2 separate regions of the Homo sapiens genome follow, and region 1 is linked to region 2. Evidence: promoter capture Hi-C in 16 types of primary human blood cells and fetal thymus (Javierre and others, 2016). All regions are on one chromosome and are shown on one strand. Each heading gives the region's core, a stretch centred on a gene start or on the middle of the fragment in contact. The rest is flanking DNA. Distances are from core to core; before and after follow the strand shown.

What was found. Contacts are between HindIII fragments. The CHiCAGO score rates a contact against its expected background, and 5 or more counts as called.
Region 1: a fragment that was not itself captured here is called in contact with the fragment with the promoter of HMX1 in region 2 in 1 of 17 cell types (M1 macrophages); the score reaches 5.2 in M1 macrophages.

What each region holds. Positions count from the first base shown.
Region 1 is chr4:8,576,252-8,580,031 of GRCh38, forward strand. No RefSeq gene overlaps it. Among named protein-coding and RNA genes, the nearest start is that of GPR78, 2.2 kb to the right of the region's middle. The HindIII fragment of the contact is 193 bases long and covers 1,300-1,492 here.
Region 2 is chr4:8,869,751-8,873,664 of GRCh38, forward strand. It overlaps HMX1 (H6 family homeobox 1), which reads right to left and starts at 2,089. Exons shown (of 2, transcript NM_018942.3): 1 at 1,471-2,089. The coding sequence starts at 1,864. The HindIII fragment of the contact is 19,285 bases long and covers 1-3,914 here.

The DNA.
Region 1 (3,780 bases), core at 146-2,645, 290 kb before region 2:
CCAGATGGAGTGCTTGATCTAGGCTTTTCTTCCTGAGTGATTTTCTGATTTTCAAAGCATTTCGTGCTCTCACAGAAAATGTAAAAGTGACAGGAAAGTGTAAAGACACAGAAAAACAACCAACCACTCCTAGCTCCATCAGCCATTGGTGACCATGACTGGTGGCCTGGCATCAGGATCCGGTGCTTCTATACCTTGTTCAGAGGTCCCAGTGTTCTCAGTGGTTTCCGCTAAACAATCCACAGTGGGATTTTTCCTTGGGACATCTGCTTTTCTTTCTCTCTCGCTCTTTCTCCCTCCCTCCCTCCCTCCCTCTCTCCCTCTCTCCTTTTTGTCTTGTCTTTTCTCTTTTCTTTTCTTTCTTAGATGGAATCTCGCTCTGTTGCCCAGGCTGGAGTACAGTGGCACGATCTCAGCTCACTGCAAACTCCATCTCCTGGATTCAAGTGATTCTCCTGTCAGCCTCCTGAGTGGCTGGGATTACAGGTGCACACCACCATGCCTGGCTAATTTTTGTATTTTATTTATTTATTTATTTATTTATTTATTTATTTATTTATTTTTAGTACAGATGGGGTTTCACTATATTGGTCAGGCTGGTCTCAAACTCCTGATCCACATGCCTTGGGCTCCCAAAGTGCTGGGATTCCAGGCATGAGCCACCATGCTGGGCTGACACCTGCTTTTTAATGGCCGCACAGGACTATGCTGTAGGGGAATAGAATCACGCACTTGCCGCCTTCCCGTTTTTGGAAGTTTCATTCATTTCCCTGTCTTTCCACCTTCCTCCTTTCTCTTTTCCGCCTGTCTATGAGCAATCATTTTTGTTAACATGCCAGATTGTTCCTTCCAGTTGCTTTCCTGCAGTCAGGGCTTGATAGCTGTGGGCTCCCCCAGCCCCTCCAAGGCTTCTAAGTGACCATGTGCGTGCAGCTCTGGGGAGTGGTGGAGGTGTCAGGAGGTTTCACAAGGGGACTTTGGTGTAGCCACTCACAGCGGCCCCTGTCACCTCTCAATGACTCCAGGGGGAGACGATTTCACTTGCAGGGGAGCAGAGAGCATCTCTTCTGAGACATGAGCGCAGGGAAGCTTCGCCAGCCTGTATTACGGAAAGGCAGGCCATTCACTCATCTGCAAGGATGTACTGGGCACCCAGCGTGTACAAGAGAATGTGCTGGATACAGCAGACTGTGGTGATCACACAAGGCTTGATTTCTTCACTTTGTTGAGCAGAGAGAAGACGTGGACAAAGTCAGATCTGATCAATACAACCACCCTGGCCCCCCAGGAGAAACAGCAAGCTTATTTTGTGAGATAAGTGAATTGTATCAATTACATCATATTGCAGTGCTATCACTGATGACAAATTCATTTCCACAGATATACACCGACAGCTTGTTACATGCAACTGGGGAGGAAAAATGAGAAAAGCGGGAAAAGAACAATGGTTAACTGAGCTCATTTGATTTTATTTAAACTTGCTTTAGTACTAAGCTTATTTCTTTTACACCTATTGAATGTAACCTTATTTAATTCTTACCCCACCCCTCGAAGATGGGTCTTCCTGCCCCTATTTTTCAGATAAGGAAACAATTAAGCCATTCACTTTAATTAAGCAGCAGTGGCATCTCAGCCTCTGCACTTCATCTCAGCCCAGCACTTCTGTTGGGGCTGAGATGGAAGTCTCGGAAGGTGCTCTGAGGAGGTGTGACTCTCCCTGGCTGACAGGGGAAGGCTTAGCAGAGCTTTGTCTTAGAGGAGTAGATGAAAAGGAAAGTACAGAGAGGGCATTCAGGCCAAGTCAGCAACACAGACAAAGTCAGGTAATGTGGGTTAAGTGCATGGGTGATGAGTAAAGGGGATGTGGCTAGATGGTGTGAGTGTGTGTGTGCTTGCATGTGTGCCTGTGTGCGTGTGTGTGCATGTGTGTGTCTGTGTGTGAGTGACAGCAACAGCAAAGGGCCCGTCATGAGTGGCTAAGACCAGATGTAGGTAGACTTGGAGGGGCTGCTAAGGAATTTCATAGGCAATGGGGAACCATGAACTATCACTAGGCAGGGGAGGAGCCTTCGGGAACTAATCCTGAACTTTATCATTGCAATGCGTATCTCAGCAAGAATGGGCAGGATTGCATAGTTAGGAGTACTGCCTTACTTTTTAAAGAAGTGGTGAAAATATTTAATATTTTCATATACTTTTTCTTTTTGGAAGATAAAAGGATTAGGTCCAGCATTTCACCCTACAGAGGATTTAAATTTTTCATCAGGAATGAGATTTGAGTGTAAGAAGATGAAACGATATTATACTGATAAGACCACAGGGTTCAAAACCACCCCCTACAACCCAGGGAAGGGGGGCAGCCAGGCTGGCAAGATCTGAGGCCAGAAGCACTGGGGCTTTGGGGAGAGCAGCAAACAGAACAGATCTAGACCTATCAAGGTGCCCTCACCAGAGTCCAGAGATCTCACCACACACATTTTCTCATTCATGCAGTTGTCCAGTACATCCTTGCAGATGAGCAAATGGCCTGCCTTTCATAATACAGGCTGGTGGAGCTTCCCCATGCTCATGTCTCAGAAGAGATGCTCTCTGCTCCCCTGCAAGTGGAATTGTCTCCCTTTGGAGTAGTTGAGAGGTGACAGAGGCTGCTGTGAGTGGCTAGACCAAAGTCTCCCTGTGAAGCCACGTGATGACTCCACCGCTCCCCAGAGCTGCACATGGTCGCTCAGAAGCCTTGGAGGGGTTGGGGGAGGCCCCTGCTCTCAAGCCCCCACTATCACAATCACTTTGTCCCAGCTATTCACCTGCAAACTTGCTTGATCTGCAGAAGCTGCAGAGTGGCCCACTCTTCCTGGACATGTCAGGAAAACTTTGACGTGGCTGCTCTAGCTTCAGGGAAGGTCTAATTTGGTGAAAATTTGAAAGCAGGTTTGTGGGAGTGCCAGGGAGAAATGGGGAGAGAGAAAGCCTCTGTATTTGATGGATGGCAATGGCTTGGAGCTGGTGTGATGGCCTCTCTGGATGACAAGGACATTGGACTTAGAGCCAGAAGGACTGAGGTATGAATCTCGGCATTCCTGGTTTGTAGTTATGGGGACTTGGCAGAGACACTTGAATGAAACTTCCTTTGCCCAGGTATAAGACGGACCCCCTAATAAAGGTTGACTGTGTTCTGATCCTTCACTGCCTGCTGGGATGTCCTCAGCATTTTGTGCATGTTGGCCAATTTAACCCTAACAGCAACCACCAGAGGCAGATGCTATTGCTGGCTATTAATATCCCCATGTGACAGATGAGAATGTGAGGCCCAAGGGGTTTAAGTGGGGCTATGAATATCCCCATGTGACAGATGAGAATGTGAGGCCCAAGGCACAGAACCAGGGGTGCCCCAGCATGCCAGTTGTGCACCTGTGGCTTTTCCCTTGGCCACTTTGCAGCACCGGCACGAGAGAGGCCCACAGGGTGAGCCTCCACACCACCAGCCACCCTTTGTCCCTCAGAAAGGGCTGGCAGAGCCTGCAGGTGAGGGTGGGTGTGGGGAGGGGTGGGCAATCGTCTGCCCTTCATTTCTGTCATGTTGTGGCTGTCACTGGGGAGAAAATGCCAAAAAGCTTCCTGGAAGAAGCAGCTTCCAGGAGGCTTCACCATATCCTTGTCCTGCCAAGTGGCCACGAATGGATTAGAAGATTCCCACTGGGTGAGAAGGCTCAGAAGCCACCACAGAGGATGGCGGAGGTGGGAGAGGCCTCGCACCGCGGGGCTCCAGGAGCCAGGTGAAGG
Region 2 (3,914 bases), core at 839-3,338:
CAAGGCACTAGGCTGACTTGCCAGCTCCAGTGAGGAAGTGGGACCCTAACCCGCATGGCACGAAATAAGGGGGAGCCGCCTCTGCAGGGGTGCCACCTGGGCTGCAGGAGGGGATGCACCCCAGGGATGAGTGGAGAACAAATTTCACCCTGAGAAACCCTTTCCATAGTCTCCCCCAGAAGGGCACTAGACAGAGTCGCTCGATTTCTGGGAAACCACGGAAGCCCTGCTCAAGTCTACGTGAAGGGGGTGGGGGCCTAGACTTCCTGAGTGTGGGTGCCGAGATGTGGGGGCTTTTGCAAAGGATCACTCCACGACATGGAAAGGGTTATCTAACAAGTGAGTGAGGGTCGTAGGCCACTTACTCCCCAGCACACACTAATATTCATACAGAGGACAGCATGGATCCCAGAGCCGGAGCCTGCAGAGGGCCCACGTCCTCAGCTGGCCTCAAGGTCCAAAGGCTGTGTTGGGGGTGGGGGGCTGGCTAAGCCAGGGCTTGGGGGGTTGGACTGGCTTTCCTGGCCTTCCTCCCAGGGGTCTTCCTAAAGGGCAGGTACAAAAGGGAGGCAGCGACCCTGGAACCCTGGGGAGGGGAAGCAGAACTAAGGGGTCAGATACCCAAGCAAGGGGGCAAAGGGGTTCTGGGGTTGAGAACCCCCAGCCCCAGTCTCAAGCCCTCAGCAGGGAACAAAGGCAAGGAGGGGGAGGGGCAGAAAAAGAAGAGAGAGGGGTTGGACTGGGGGCCTCAGAACAGGCTCCCTTCTTGCCTGGCACAGCCCATGCCCCTCAAGGACCAAGAGGGAGACCCAGGCCCCTGCCCCAGGCTGTCTGCAGCGGGCACAGAGGAAACAGGACTCTGGGGGGGCACAGCTGCCATGTTAGATGGCTCCCCTCCCCGGCCCCACCCCCACAACACTGCACCCTCTGCTCAATGCCCCCTTTTATTTTTCCACGTCTGATGCTACTTTGTCTCCCTTTCCCTCCATCTCTTCCTCCTCTTTTCTCTCTCGGATCACTCTTGGGTTTCTTTTTCCTGCATCTTCCCCTCCCCCCACCCCATTCTCTCTCCCGCAGCACATTCCTTTCTTCCTCCATCCTCCCATTTTCTTTCTCAGCCTCTTTCGCCTTCTCCTGTATCTTTCCCTATCCTCTTTCACTCTCCTTTCTTTTTTCTTTGGCCTCCTGTTGTCCCCTGTCCCCAGCCTCCCTGGGACCGGAGGAGCCCGGCAATGGGTGAAGCTATGGCCTGCAAAACCTCCTCGTTAGCGGAGCTCCTGCCCCAGAGGGTGGGCCTCCAAACCAGCCCAACCAGGGGCTCCTGGGGGCCCCACAAGGCCCAGACGCCGTTCCACAGAAGGGAGAGGATGGCCCAGAACGGGCGGCGACGAGCCCGAAGTCCCCCAGCAAATGCGCAGGGAGGAAGTCGGGCCCCACCGCCTGACCCACCCTCCCCGCGCCCTCACTCACTGTCAGGACTGAGGCCGCCTCCATAGCCACCGTGCGCCCGTGGGTACCAGCGCGCTGCGCCTCCGCAGCCCAGAGCGAAGGGCGGCCCGGGACCGGGGGGCGGCCGAGGACCGAGGCCCAGCGCGCCCGGCCCGAGCAGCGCACGGGCCCGCGCCTCCCCGCCGGGCCCGGTGCCCGCGAGCAACTGTCGCCGCCGCTGTAGCCGTCGCCGCCGCGCCTGCTCGGCGTCCTCGTCTTCGGGGTCGTCGTCGTCCTCCTCCTCGTCCTCCCGGCTGCCGTCGCCCTGGGTCGCGCGCCCTGCGCCCTTGGCCTCGGCCGCCAGCAGGTTCTCGATGAGGAAGGAGGAGGCGCGGGCCGGCGTGGCGCGCCCGGGCTCCGTCAGCTCGTCAGGCATCGCGGCCGCGGGCTTCTCGGGCTCGGCCGGGCTCCTCGGTCCCCGCTGGGGATGGTGGCGCGCGGCTCCCGGGCGCACGCGCGGGCCGGCCCTGGAGCTGCTACCCGGACCGCTGGCGTCGGGCCCCGCAGGGCAGGCGGCGGCCTCCGCGCCGGGCTGGGCTGGGCCGGGCCGGGAGCGAGTGCGCGCCGACAGCTGATCGGGCAGCCGCCTGGCTCGCCTTTCAGGTCGCCGTTCTGGTCGCCGCCGGGGCGGCCTCACTGGGGGCGGGGAGGGGGAGGGGCCAGCAGGGGCGGGGGGTCGCGGGCTGGGCCGGGAGGGCGGCCCGCTGAGCCCCGAGGACGCTGCGCCGGCCCCGAGCGCGGCCGCTGCCGGGAGACGCTGCCCAGACCTGAGCGCGCGGGCAGCGGCGCAGCCGAGGGCGGGCGGCCCCGGGCGCAGGCGGGGGGTCGCGCCGGGTCCGATCCCGCGTGATCAGTTCCCCCGTCCCGCGCCACCCGCTCCGTGGGGGCGGGGCCTGGGCTGAGCGGCCACCCATTGGCTGTGGGGCCCCGATGAGGAACGGGCTGGCCAATCACCGTCCGGCCAGAGCCGTAATTACCCCGCTGCGAGGAGGGTGTTGGACCGACCGTGAGTAACTGTGTGTGTGCGCGCGCGTGGTGTGTGCACGAGTGTGCGTTTGAATGGCTGTGTGTGTGTGGAGGGCGGCGTGGAGACCCCGGGGCTCCCAAGAAACTGCAAGAGGCTGGGCCACATTTTTTTATTTAAGACTTTGTGTGTAATTTAAAAATGGGAACACTGCCAAAACAGGACTGCGAAATGTGGCATATCTTAATATTTGCACTTAAGGAAAGATGCTTTCAATGCCAACTGTAGTTCGGTAGAACTCTTCAGTTCCCGGGCTCGGTACCAGTATGTAAGGAAGTGCAACCACAGGGCTCCGCTGGCAGCCCGCTCGATGTTACCAAGCAGGTCTTCACCGCGCCAGCACCCCCACCGCCCGCTCCAGGGGAAGCCAGGGCCTTAGAAGGGGGTGGGAGCTTTTGGCCCAGCCTCTGCCCTGGGCGAAGGTCTTGGGGGCAGGCCCCTTCCCTCGTTGTGCCTCCGTTTCTTCGCTCTAAAGGGGTGGGGAGGTCCTCCCATATCTGCAGCGGGAAGTTCGGGAACATAACGCACCCTGGAGCTGTCTCCGTTCCGGCGTCGACTTCAGACTTACCTACATTAGGTCACTGCGCGGACGCGCGGGTTAAGCCGGCTTCACCCGATGCGAGTTATTTCGCAGAGATACATCCATCCTCCCAGGGCCAGCCCCGGGCCCCTCTCCACCCGAGTACCGCCCGCGTTCCCGGAGGTGACCGCAGGCCTGGGGCTTCCGCTTTGTTTAATTCTTCCAAAAAAGCACGGTGGAGGGAGCATCGCCCCCATTTTTCAGCGGAGAAAACTGACGGGAGAAGAGAGAAGAGACTCCCCCAGAGGGTAGGTGGCTCCGGCAAGCCTGGAATTCCTTCACTGATGCCCCGGAGTCCGGCTGGTTGGCAGGGCGGTGGGGCTCCAGGAGCGGCTGAGGCCTAGCCAGCTGGGCCCTCGCGGCCTGGGTTCGCAGAGACAAAATGGTGCGCCTCTTGGGAGCGTGTCCTGGGTGCGCTTTCTGGCGGCTGCCAGGAAGGACCTCTAGTGCTCAGTGGCTGCCGCGATCTCGAGTGGGAGGACTTTTCCAGGGACTCTAGGACAAGATGCTCAGCCCATCTCCTTTTCCCCGGCATCCTAGCCCAAGAGGGGCAAAAATAATCAATGACAGGGACTCCCCGGGTTGTTTAGCCTGGAGGCAGCCCACAGATGGGGGCTCCTCCCTCCATGTTGTTGATGAGGCCACTAAGCCAAAGTGGAGAGAGTTGGGATCTTAGGGAGGAGCTGAGGTCTCCCAAGCCCTGCTCCCTGGGATGTCCAGGGTCAGAGAGACTCCAAGGAGCAGAGGTACCCCAGCCAGAGGGGGCTGGGCCAAGGAAATTGGGACAGAGCGCCCGATTCGATTAGTTTGGAGCGCTAGCCT